Regions from separate parts of the Homo sapiens genome. Here region 1 is linked to region 2. The links are contacts of gene promoters, found by promoter capture Hi-C in blood cells and fetal thymus (Javierre and others, 2016). All regions are on one chromosome and are shown on one strand. Each heading gives the region's core, a stretch centred on a gene start or on the middle of the fragment in contact. The rest is flanking DNA. Distances are from core to core; before and after follow the strand shown. Region 1 holds the start of IL22RA1 (interleukin 22 receptor subunit alpha 1). Region 2 holds the start of MYOM3-AS1 (MYOM3 antisense RNA 1).

Region 1 (6,808 bases), core at 144-2,643, 76 kb before region 2:
GTTGCCAGAGCCAGGAGCTGGCCTCCAAACAGGAACAAGAAAGACATAAGGGGTTGCCTGGCTGATGGACTGTCCAGAGGGAGCCAGAACTGCAGAGGGATATGGCCATTGCTGGGGAAGCCACTCAAACAGAAAACGAGGGGAGAAATGCTCTGATCTCTGCCTCCCCAGTCTTCCCCCAGGGGCTAAACCTATCAGAAAGCAGTTGATAAAGGAGTCTAGAAAATGTAGTTTCCTGCAGTTTCAGGAAATGACTGGCATGGGCCCTACCTTAATTCCTCCAAAGCACAGCTTAGATTTGGCTGTTTTGTCAAACAAACTTTAGCAATCAGGGCTGATAACAATTACAATTCAGGAAAGAAAAACTTAAACACCGATCTCAGCATATCACAGCCCATTACACCCAACCCGTTGGCAGGATCCCTGCTAAAATTTCGCTTGCCTTTGTGTGCTTGGGGCCAGGCAAACTCTCCCCAGGGGCAGGACCCTCCAATCGTGTCCACCCTGACCAGAGTCCAGGCCCCAGGGCCCTTCTACCTTCTCCAGGCCCTGCAGGAAGGAGAAAACCATTTCCTAAACACCTGTCCCTTCATTCACACGAAGCTCATGTGCAGATCCTGCCCTACGTGGCAAAATGATGGGAGAGCAGCCTGAATCTTCATCGTCCCGAACCAAAGCCCCATTCATGAAGTTCAGCCCCATCTCTAGCACAGCAGAAAGAATCACTGAAGTTTGAGTTCCATTTTTTTTCTAAACTTTTGCAGATCCTAGACCCAAAGGCTCAAGGTAAGAGCGGCTGGGCTTCCTCACCCCCAACGGCCTCTCTAGGGGAGAGCTGTTCCCAAGCCCACCCCAAGCGTGGGGACCTGCCTTGATATGGAGGATCAAGGAGGAGCATCGGGTGCCCTCAATCTCCTCCTGCCAGAAAAGCAAAGGAGTCACAGCTTTTCCTTTGCTGCAAGAAACATTCTGGGACCTTTTTTTTCCCCCTCTGTTGTCCAGTTATTTTCATCAGGGTAAATCCCCTAGGAATAGAATTATTAAAGCAAAAGATATGTATGTGGTGTAGGCTTTTGATCCACAGTGCCAAATTGCTTTTTGATAAGGCTGCATATCGTGGATTATTCTTGCCTTTTCTGCCCCTCAGCTCCTTGATAAACCACTTGGGATGAATCAGCCACCGGACCAGATAAACAAGCCAGCCTGTTACTATTGCTGTTTTCTGCAAGTCGGAAGGGAACTCCCTTAGATCCCGCCCAGAACCTGGAATTCCAGAGCACACAGGGCCAGGACACCTTTGTACCCCTGCTCCCCACCGGCACAGGTCCCACCCACCCCCTTCTCCCCGCCCCATGCCCGGGTGGAGCCAGCTGCCAGGGCGCCAAGACTCCCAGCCCTCTCTCTGTGCACGGCAGAGTAGAGGCCAAGGGAGGGCTCTGTGCCAGCCCCGATGAGGACGCTGCTGACCATCTTGACTGTGGGATCCCTGGCTGGTGAGTGCCCATCTACCCTGTGGTCAGACCTCCCTTATCCCAGGGGCCAACGATCAGGGTCATCTCCCCAGCACCCTCCCCAGCCCGAGCATAGCCAGTTTCAGTTTCTCCCCTGCTAGGGCTGAGCAGGGTGCCGGGTGTTCACGGAGAAGCAAATGCCCAGCTTAGTTTGCTGGGGGCATGAGAGGGTGCCTCAGACCCTGGGTTCTTCCAGGGACCCAAAGGACCCTCGGGTCTTGAGGGATATAGCCAGCTGTCTGAACTGGGGGTGCTGGATCGCTGCACCTCAGTGAATGGAGAATTGGCCTGGAGGAGGCAGACATCCTTCGGTCCCTCAAACGGTGTCGGCACAGTTTGTACCATCCTTCCTCTGCCTCTCACTTGGCACTGGCCTGACAGGGGAGGAGGAGGAAGGACCGGGGGAAACGAAGCTTGAGTTCACTATTGCCTCCCTCCATGCCCCTGCAGGGCCTCTTTGGCCCCTTTTGTTATCATAGATCTGAAAGAGCATTTTCTCCTAGAGTGGCCAGGTCTGCTACATTAATAGGTCTTAAGACACAGGACTCATTTGGAAACAGGTCTTAAGGGCATAGTGTTCAAAGCCAATAAAGTGAGCGGAGTGGGGGGCTCATCATTATGGAGAACGTTACATGAGACCCTAGACTCTCTCTCTGCTCTCCTGGTGCATTGCATGAAATTCAGGGAACTTCCTTAGGAAGTCAAAGCATAGTCCTGATTGAGGATGGCGAGCAGGTATGGCCTCGGCCAGGCCCTCCTTGCTCAAGTGCAGGACGAGGCCCACGAAAAGGCAGAGCTTCCCACCTTCTCTGCCACTGTCCCGCCAGGGCTGCCTGCGTCTCCAGGGCTTCCAGCTCTGTGGGACCCCCTCCAGTCTGCTTCCCAGCATCAAGCTGGGCGTTCCAGGAAGATGTGAGGCACCCCCTTGAGGCACCAAGACACGTCCCTTTAGACCCTCAGCCATACTGGTTAGAAATCCTAGAGGCTCCCAGCCCTTTGAGATGGGGGACCCCAAGAAATAGCCCTTAGGAGATTGTCAAGGGTCAGCTGCCTCGCGCTGCACACACCGGGCCCTCACCCCCCCAATCTTAGGCTGACTCCAGAGCATGTGGAATTGTTTCTTGTTTGTGTATTTTTCCTTAGCTTCCCAGCTGGTTGACAGAACATTGTTTTTCCACATGAATGTGAAAAAACAAGTTGCCTTTTATAAATCCGCCAGGCTGCCAGGCTCCACACAACACATGTCTCCCCAGATTTCACAATATAGACTTTCACCCGGGAAGTGCCGAAGCAACACAGGCTGAGGAATGGATGATAGATTTGAGGAGGAAAAGGAGCGAGGAGGGTGGGAGAAGAGGGGGAGATCTTGTTAGACCCTGACATCCCTAAAAGACAGGAGTGGGCCTAGGTTCACTTACCCCACTTCAGGAAGCTAACTGCAGTTCCCTCCTGAAAAGTGGTGCCAACCTCCACGTAGCCCAGGGTCCTTTGCCTTGGCAACATGCCCCCACCTCAGCCACCAGCCTCCTTGCAACCCAGATGGGCCCTCTATTTCCCACCCAGAACACTGACCTCAACCAGCAACCGTTCCCGCTGCAGACTCTACCCCAAGCCTTGATGGAGCCTGGCTTCTCAAAGCCCACCCTCACCCTTCTGCCCTGACCCACCACCCAACCAGAAGCCACTGTTCAGGTCTGACCTTGACTGGACTCCTTTCCTCAACTTTAGACTCAGCCCTGAATCCAGGACCCCTCCCTCCAGAACTGACCCCAATTCCACCCAGCCTCACATCCAAACAAGATGTCAGCTACATCCTAAGGCTCCACGGCACAGCCGTCACCTTGCGTAGAGGCAGTAGACCCCTCCCCGCGCCATCCCTAAGGCCCCATTCTGGGGACTCCAGGAAGCCTGAAGACATTTTGCAGCTGCTGGGCCAGAACCCAAATTCAGAGAGGAGGGCAGCCTTCGAGGTTGGCCAGAGGATGTGCAGCGGGGTCGGACCATTCTTCCGTCCCCATCGGTCCTCGCCAAGCCTGAGGACCCCTCTTGTGTGTAGAGTTGGAGTAGGGGAATCAATAACTGTCTGCTCCCTCACACCTTGGGCCCACTGGCAGTCGTAGACGTGTCTGGGGAAGGAGAGGCACAGACATATTCAAGACACACACCCAGGCCGCAAGGCCTTGACCCAGCTGGGGTTGCTTAACATTTTCCCACCTGTTTATTTCCCACGCCAGCCGGCCAGGGCCTCCGAGCTCCGAGCCAGCTGCCAGCTTGGGCCGCCATTTTCCCGCAGGCTCTTGCTCTCCACAGCCCAAGCCTGGGGGCCTGAGGGAAGGGTTTTATAAGTTAAGGACTCTTTGTTTACAGTGCAGATTGCTTTAGAGGCTGCAGCCCCTCCCCAGCCCCTTCCTTGAGGCTCAGGCCCTCACTGCCCTTCCCTTAACAGAAGCAGAAGTGGGCTGGACAAAGACCTAGCCTGGAAGAGAGGGCTGTGGACTCTTCAATGGCCAGCTTCTCTTCTCCTCTCTCTTCTCCTCCTCCCTAAATTCATCCCTTTATCAGGTGCTCAGGTCCCTGAAGCCCCCCACCCTCATATAAAAGGGTGAACAAGATAGCCCCCTCCCTACAGAGCGAATGTCTTCCCTTCCCAGGTCTCCTCCCTTCAGACTCAACACATGTACATAGGGGCCTGTTAGACACTAAACACATTCACAGACGCCAACCCGCTCTATCCGCCCCACAACCAGTCTAGCACTGGGATGAATATTGTAGGTTCTTCACATGCTAACTGTGATGCTGGGCGGCAGCTCTCTCTGAGCCTCAGCTCATTCATCAAATGGGGATAGTGATAGTGGGCACGTTGTCGTGAGGATTTAATGAAGGGAGGGACTTGCCTGAAAGAGGCTGTGCACTTCACAAATGCCAGTGGCTGCTGTTGTCATTGTTGTTTGTCTTTCGGTAAATCAAACTATATCCATTTTAGAGATGAGGCAATTGAAGTTCTCGTTGCTTAAACAACTTTCCCAAGGCCACCCTGCCCACGTGTGGGCTCAGTCAAGAGCGCCTCCTCCACCATTGCTTCATCTGATCAACTTGGGGCAAGTCACTTCTTACACACTTTAGTTACATATCTCTAAAATAAGGGTGAGGACACCAACTTCAGGTTGTGTTAAAAAGTGAATGAGAGACAATACCAAGCATCAATGGCGATGTGGAGAAACTGAACCCCTCAAACAATGCTGGTGGGAATTTAAGATGGTGCAGCCATAACATCCTGGACAATATATGAGACCCCATCACTACAAAAAATTTAAAAATAAATTAGACGGATGTGGTGGTGCATGTCTGTAGTCCCAGCTACACAGGAGGCTGAGGTGCGAGGATTGCTTAAGCCCAGGAAGTCGAGGCTGCAGTGAGCCATGATCACGCCACTGCACTCCAGCCTGGGGGACAGAGCAAGACCCTGTCTCAAAGACCAAAAAAATGGTGTGGCCACTTTAGAAAATAGTTCGACAGTTCTTCAAAAGGTTAAAGATAGAGCTACTATATAACCTACCAAATTCCACTCTTAGATATATACCCAAGACAACTGAAAACATATGTCCACTTATAAAATTGAACACGGTGTTCACAGCAGCATTATTCATGGTAGCCAAAAAGTAGAAACAACCCAAATGTCCTGATGAGTGGATAAACAAAATGTGGTATATCACACAATGGAATATTATTCAGCCCTAAAAAGGAAGTACTAATCCATGCTACCACACGTGTGAACCTTGAAAACATTATGCTAAGTGAAAGAAGCCAGCCAAGCTCTATTTACATAAAAAGTCTAGAGTAGGGACATTCACAGACACAGGAAGTAGATTCGTGGTTGTCAGGGTTTAGGGGAGGAGAAGAATGGGTGGAGTGACTGCTAATGGGCATGCAGTTTCTTTTTGGGGTGCTAAAAATGTTCTGGAATTAGATAATAGCGATGATTGCACAACGTTGTGAAAATGCTAAGAAACCATTGAACTGAACACTGTAAGGTGGTGACATTTATGGAATGTGAATCACAACCCATTGCAAAGCAAAATGGCTGAGAATGGATGGTTGGTTAGAACAGCGTGGGGAGCATCCCCTCTTGCTGGTCCATTTGTAGAAGGCTGGGGGCCAGGGTCTCCCTGCCCACCCACCAGGCTGGCATCTTGAAAGCAAAGGCACTTTGCATGAAATTTATATGGGGCAGGACTCTGACTGAGCCCATACATGGGCAGGGTGACCCTGGGAAAGCCCCTGCTCACCCTCCTCCCACCCTCCTGCAGCTCACGCCCCTGAGGACCCCTCGGATCTGCTCCAGCACGTGAAATTCCAGTCCAGCAACTTTGAAAACATCCTGACGTGGGACAGCGGGCCGGAGGGCACCCCAGACACGGTCTACAGCATCGAGTATAAGACGTAGGCTTCTCTCTTGACCCCACCTCCTTTGACTGATCTGAAGCCAGCCCCTCTCCAAGGAATTCCCCTCCTCTCCATATGTTCCCATGTCCCCACCAGGACTGGTGTCACATAGCCCCTCCCAGATAAAGCTTTGCTCCTTTATGTTTCTTTTGCAGAGGGAGAATAATATAAGGGTAAAAAGTACAGGTGATAGGGTCAGGCTGTCTGGGCTTAAATGCCGCTCTCGCCTGTATAACCTTGGGCAGGTAACCTCACGAAGCCTCAGTTTCTCCACCCACAAAGTGAGGACAATGATAGCACTTTCATCACAGGGTTGTTGGGTGGGTTAAACAAGATAAAGTCATTAGCACTTGTGCCTGGAAATTTATAAGCTACCAATAATTGTTTTATTATTATTAGTGAGACTAGGTCAACCGAAGATGCACCCAGCCCCTCTAGCCCACGCTCCTGTTCCTGCTCCTCTCCCTCCCATGCAGGTGAGGAGGGGTGGCCTGGGCTCAGGAGTCCTCAAACCTGGCTTCCACTCCTGGTCATGCCACGTTGTCCTGTAGCAAGTCACTTCCCCCTCTCTGAGCCTCATTTCTCTCATCTGTAAAATGGGGATAACAGGGCCCACATCAAAGGACTATGGTGATGACGAGCCCAGAATGTGGACTCAGACTGGCTGGGTTCAAATCCTGGCTCTCCACATGCACACTTCAAACACGTGGGCAATTTACTTCTTTGAGCCTCATCTTCTTTGTTTGAAAAATAAACAGAATAGGCTGGGCACAGTGGCTCACACCTATAATCTCAGCACTTTCAGAGGCTGAGGCAGGTGGATCACTTGAGGTTAGGAGTTCGAGACCAGCCTG
Region 2 (6,183 bases), core at 180-2,679:
CTGCCCCGCCCTGCCCCGCACACCTGGCCTGCCCTGCAGCCCTGAGTCCTCGGCTCTGCAGCCTGCTGAGCACAGCCCCCTCGACTTCTGTCCACCCCATGTCCCCTCTCCAGACCCACACTCCTCTCGGCTCATGCCAGTTCCTCCCTCTGTGTTCACAGATTTTGACAAGCTTCTGAGGAAGGCAGATGCTAAGAGAAGGGACTGGAAGAGAAAACAGGGTAAGAGCTGCTGGGGTGAAGTTCAAAATCCCTGGCCACTGGTTCGTGCTAGAGATGCTGGACTGCGGATTAATGGGAACCCCAGCCCTGCTGGGTCCCCAAGGGAGGTCCACTGTCATTCAGTCCAGTTCTGTCCCAGTGCCAGATCAAAATAGCTCTTGCCTGACCTGAGGGTGAGAGCTGAGCCCTCTTAAATTTTGCACCCTGAAGCCAGGCACAGTGCCCCACACCTGTAATCCTAGCACTTTGGGAGGCCAAGGTGGTCAGATCACTTGAGGCCAGGAGTTCAAGACCAGCCTGGCCAACATGGTGAAACCCTATCTCTATGAAAAATACAAAAATTAGCCGAGCATGGTGGCACACGCCTGTAATTCCAGCTACTCAGGAGGCTGAGCCACAAGAATCCTTGAAACCAGGAGGCGGAGCTTGCAGTGAGCCGAGATTGCGCCACTGCACTCTAGCCTAGGCAACAGAGCGAGACTCTGTCTCAAAAATAAAGAAAGAAAGAAAGAAGGAAGGAAACAAAGGAAGGAAGGAAGGAAGGAAGGAAGGAAGGAAGGAAGGAAGGAAGGAAGGAAGGAAAAAGAAAGAAAGAAGGAAAGAAAGAAAGAAAGAAAGAAAGAAAGAAAGAAAGAAAGAAAGAAGGAAAGAAAGAAAGAAAGAAGGAAAGAAAGAAAGAAAGAAAGGAAGGAAGAAAGAAAGAAAGAAATTTGCGCTCTGAGCACCGCCCCTGCCTCACCCCAGTCCCAGCCCTGGCAGAGGCAGCATCTGAGAAGTCCATAGCCATTAGCTGTCCCTCCCCCCAGCACTGCCTGGACACAGGTGGCACCCTGGCTGAGCCTGGCTCTCTGACAGTGGGCACATTTGTTTTGCACGCACAGGTCCCTATTTTGAGCGGCCGTTGCAGTGGAAGGTCACGGAGGACTGCCAAGTGCAGCTGACGTGCAAGGCAAGTCCTGCCCTGCCCTGCCCCCAGGCCCAGTGCAGGGGGACCTGTGGCTTGTCCCCAAGCCCAGTTGCTGTCCCTGCCCACCCGGCCCCCTAAATTCCATACTCTGTGCTTGGCTGATCGCACACACAGAAAGTACCCCCGAGGAGACCACACGTAACCCAAAAAGCAAACCCACCTTCCCAGCGCCCATGGGGTAGGATTCGTGTGAGGTGGACCAGCCTTGAACGAGATCCTAGTGGCTCCAGAAGGGGTTCTGAGGGGTCAGGGGGTCTAGGAGCCCACGAGGGTTTATATGTTGAGGGGTATCCCTGTGTTTATGATTACCCTGTGCTCAGAGACTCACAGTATTATTTCATCCGCCTCACAATCATCTGTGACACAGGCATTACTATCCTCACTTCATAGATGAGAAAACAAATGGAGAAATAGCTCAAGGCCACACGGTAAGAGGGAGAGCCCAGGTTTGAACAAGTCTATCTGATTCCAAAGCCTAAGGTCCTTCTTAGCACTCTTCAGCCTGTTTAGATAACTGGGGAAGGGGAGGGTGGGTGCTCTCCCAGAAGCATATTCATTCAGTAAACTCAGAGCATCTATTTTGTGCCACTCTGCACGGTACTGAACGTACAAAGATGATGAAGTGGTCTCTGTGGGCCTTGGGAGCCCATGTTCAAGGCAGGACCATTGGAAAACAGCATCCCTCATGCTTGACCCGGATGGGGCAGGACATTGATGAATCGTGATGGAGGGGGTGACTATGGGATGCTTCAAAAAAAAGGCTTCCTGGAGGAGATGACATTTAACTGAAGCACATGGACATTTCCAAGAAAAATAGAGTAAGGCAGGGATCAAGAGGCAGAGGGAAAACCATTAGCAAGAATTCAGAGTCCAGAGGCCAGCAGAGGAGACACATGGTATGTGAAAGGACTCCACTGAGATGCCTGAAAGTGTGCACAGGTGTGTTTTTACTCAAAAAGAAACAAGCCTGACAGAGTCTCCTCATTCCCCACCTTCCCCAGGTGACCAACACCAAGAAGGAGACTCGCTTTCAGTGGTTCTTCCAGAGGGCAGAGATGCCAGATGGTCAGTATGACCCAGAGACGGGAACGGGACTTCTCTGCATTGAAGAGGCAAGTGTGGCTCCAGCTTCAGGGCTCACTTTCTCCTTTGGCTGCAAGCCAGGGAGGGCCAAGAGCTCTGGGCTGGGAGTCAGGGCAGGGCCGAGGCTAGGTTGATGCAAGTGAGGCCCTGAGCACAAAATTTAAGAGGCACCAAAAAACTCAGTAATCAAGATAAATAATATTGTATGCAATATTCTAAAAAATCAAAATTAATGCAAAAAAACTATTAAAGCCCCCAAATTTTCAATAGAGACAGAATCAGTATTACTGATTTTTTTCTTTAGCTCCAGTACTGGCCCTGCCAATGACTGTGCAGGCTTGGGCTAGCCCCCGTCGCTCTCTGACCTCAGCTTTCATCTGCAACATGAGCGGGTTGGAAGGGATGCTCTTTCAACGCCTCCTTCCTGCCCCAACAGTCTAGGAGTCGGGACAGGAAGGATGTCTCCATGTGAGGCAGATCTGGGCAGAATAAAGCAGGCCTGGAGCTCAATTCTCCCCCCAAGTCCTCCCCCATGGCCTTTGGTGGACCGTGGCCTGGTTAAGAGAGAAACACAAGGCTTGCTCTCAAACGTCAACCTTTTTCTGCCCTGCTGCTGATGTCTGTGGCCTCACTGGGTGCCCAGGAGGACTGGAGCAAACAGAGCCTTGCTGACTAGGAAGAAAACAATGATTTCAAGGTCTTCTCCCAAATCCTGGCCAGGCTGATGCCAAGTCAGCCTTTGCCACCACTGTGCAAGCTCCTCAGACAGGCTGTGGCACCAGTAGGTGCTTCAAAGTTACAGAGTTTTATTATAATCATCAGTCCCATTGGTGCAAACTTTCTGGCCTCCTAAGAGTTACCTCCCTTGATCCCCACAGCAGCTGTAGCATACAGGCAGGGCAAGGATGATGCCATGATTTTACAGATGAGTAAACTGAGGCTCAGAGTGTTTCAATGCAAAGACATAAGGCTAGAAGGTGGGGTCAGAAGCCACTCCAGTCACCCACCCTAGGTTTGGCTGAGAACTTGGAGACTTCCTGGGATGGTGAGGACATAAGAGAGGACTTTTGGGGCTCAGCACCTCAATCCTCAGGTTAAGAGCTGCCTCTGTCTTGGATCCTGCCCCAAACCCACTGTGTGGAGATGGTCCTGGTGGGAAGTATTGAGAGATGAGGGCTGAAGGAAGGTGCTGTGTAATGAGAGGTCACTTCTGATCTCTGGACCTTGCCTTGAAAGCACAACTCAAGTTCTTACTTTGCTGAGTGTTTGTTCAGACTTAATTTGGGGCTGACAAACATGGGCCAAAAGGGCCCCCTTGTCCTGGGCAGGAGAAAACACGCTTCCTCCTGGGGAACTGCAGGTGGTGGGGGTCCCTCCATCCAGGAGCCCCCAGGGAGTGAAAGGTGGGCCAGGCCCAGACAAGCTCTGCAAAGTGAGGCTCACTGTGTCATGTCATGCTCAGAGCAGCTGCCTGTGAATGCAAACGAAGGTGTCTGGTTCTGTCCTCAACTCCCCCTACTCCACCCCTTCCCCAGGCCCAGACAAGCCCCGAGCTAGGAATCCAAGGGCTCTGGAGCTGAAAGGAGCCTTAGAGCTCACCCAGCCCAGATGAGTAAATGGAGGCCCAGGGAGGAGAAGGGTCTTACCTGAGGTCACACAGAGAGTGAGGGGCAGGCCTGGAGCCCAGGCCTCCGGATTTGGTATCCATCTCTCCTTCTGGAGCCCATGCTGACACCACCATCGCTCATCCTTCTTTCCAGTTGTCCAAAAAGGACAAGGGAATTTACAGAGCGATGGTTTCTGACGATCGAGGGGAGGACGACACCATATTGGACCTCACGGGTGACGGTAGGAGCTGGCGATGGGTCAGGGGCTGTGGAGGGAGCACAGTGGAGCAGACTGTGATGTGATCTGTGCAGTAAGATTTATGGGATCCCCATGTCACTTGGAGAAATTGAGGCACAAAGAGATTAAGTAACTTGCCCAAGATTCCACATCTAGTCAGTGGCAGGAGCCAGGTCGGTGTGACTCCGATGCCCTCGTTCACCACAGTATACCACAGTGAGCCCAGGCTTGGAGACCCGAAGCCTGAGTTCACTCCTCCGTCCCACAGTGGGCCCAGGCTCCTCATCAGGCTGATCAGCTCAGCCTGCAAAAACTGTCAGATTTGCATGTTTGTCCTCCATCCATAGTGCCCTTCTGCCCACCCCATTGCTGAGTGCCCTGAACCCCCTCCTATCCCCAAGCTATGAGAGTCATCCTACAGAGTTGCCTGTCCCCCTGAGAGCAGCTCACGGGCTCCACCAGCCTTTTTCTAGGATGTCCCCACTCCTAGCACATCCCTAGGGGAGCCCTATGCCAGCTAACCCTTCTCTCTGTTTCCCGCCAGCCCTGGATGCCATCTTCACCGAGTTGGGCAGGATTGGTGGTAAGCAGCCTGCCTCTTTGCCCAGCCCTGCCCTGCCCTGATGCCCAACAGCCTCCAAGCAGCCTAACACTGGCCTTGGCTATTGGGGGTGGGTTTAGTTTCTAACCTCAAACACCGAAGAGAAAATCCCGCCTCTTCACAGCACTGCATTTCCCCCACAGCACCTGCCCCCCAGGGCAGAGGCAGACAAGCCGGCCCCAAAATCTGATGCCTAAATGGCCTCAGGGAAGATTCATCCTTCTCCTCTGTCTCCCCAGCCCTCTCTGCAACTCCACTGAAAATCCAGGGGACCGAGGAAGGGATCCGGATCTTCAGCAAGGTCAAGTACTACAACGTGGAGTACATGAAAACCACCTGGTTCCACAAGTAAGTCCGCCTTGCCCCAGAACCCCAGCCAGGCTGGAAAGGATTCAGCACCTGACCCATGGGGGCCTCCCTCCCTTCTCCCTGCCTGGTCCTCCAAGCAGAGTTTCTGGTCCCCCAAGCAGAGCCTGGTCCCAGGGGTTAGCAGAGACAGAGTCTCTTCCTGGTCTTGCTGTCCACAGAAGGAGTTGAGGATAGAGATTAGCAGTGGGAGGAGTAGAAAGGCTTTGCCGAGATCCCCAGGGAAGGTGGGAACCTTGGCGGGACAACATTTTTCTGGAAACTCTATGGCCACAGCAGGATCAGTCTCTGGGCAGCAGCTGGGAACTGGGGGAGAAAGGGATGCAGGGACAAAGAAGAGCCAAGTGGTCAGGTGGGTCAGGGGACCCTTGTGGGCCTCTGCAGACTTAGCAAACTTGGTCAGCCAGGCTTAGGGGAAACATGCAGGAAAAGGGTCTGTGGGGCTGGCCACTAACTGAGAGCCAGGGCTTGAAGGCAGGATAGATGAGGTACCCACAGAGACTCAGCCACTCTCTGAGTGGCCCCAGATAATCCAACAGCAGAGTTTTCCCAGTGCTTTTTACCAGCTGCATGCCTCAGCCTTGTGGAGCAGACATTACTGCACCCACTCTATGGAGAAGGCTTGACTAATTTGGTCCAGGTTGTCAAATGAGTGAGAGCCAAGAACAGATGGAATTTCAGGACAATAGGTTCCTCCCCCAGCGAGTTTCTGAGCCCTGTGACTAAGCAGAGAGGTGTCACCTCTGCAACACAACACTGGGAACAGAGGACAGCGTCTCTAGGAATGATGAATGAATGAATGAATGAATGCAGTATTGAATGAGGAATGGAGGGTTGAATAATCAATGAGTAAGTGAATGGATATTTATCTGGTGCCTCATAGTCACCACCCATAGCCCGTGATCTCAAAACAAAACCAGAGGAGAGGATTTTGGGGCACGGGTATCTGTTGACCTGCAGACAGGCAGCCTTAACCATTTCTCCACCCTCACATTCAGAGACAAACGTCTGGAGAGTGGTGATCGGATAAGGACGGGCACCACCCTGGATGAGATCTGGCTTCACATCCTGGACCCCAAAGACTCAGACAAGGGCAAATA

The links. Contacts are between HindIII fragments. The CHiCAGO score rates a contact against its expected background, and 5 or more counts as called.
Region 1: a contact is called between the fragment with the promoter of IL22RA1 here and the fragment with the promoter of MYOM3-AS1 in region 2, in 1 of 17 cell types (endothelial precursors). The highest score is 5.5, in endothelial precursors.

The regions. Positions count from the first base shown.
Region 1 is chr1:24,137,725-24,144,532 of GRCh38, reverse strand. IL22RA1 (interleukin 22 receptor subunit alpha 1) reads left to right here and starts at 1,393. Exons shown (of 7, transcript NM_021258.4): 1 at 1,393-1,493; 2 at 5,819-5,951. The coding sequence starts at 1,451. The HindIII fragment of the contact is 5,016 bases long and covers 1-1,926 here.
Region 2 is chr1:24,062,008-24,068,190 of GRCh38, reverse strand. MYOM3-AS1 (MYOM3 antisense RNA 1) reads right to left here and starts at 1,429. Exons shown (of 3, transcript XR_001737930.2): 1 at 1,349-1,429. It overlaps MYOM3 (myomesin 3), which reads left to right. Exons shown (of 37, transcript NM_152372.4): 27 at 162-221; 28 at 1,103-1,170; 29 at 2,190-2,300; 30 at 4,032-4,119; 31 at 4,661-4,699; 32 at 4,957-5,065; 33 at 6,082-6,183. LOC107984931 (a long non-coding RNA gene) reads right to left here. Exons shown (of 3, transcript XR_001737929.1): 3 at 4,062-4,144. The HindIII fragment of the contact is 6,627 bases long and covers 175-6,183 here.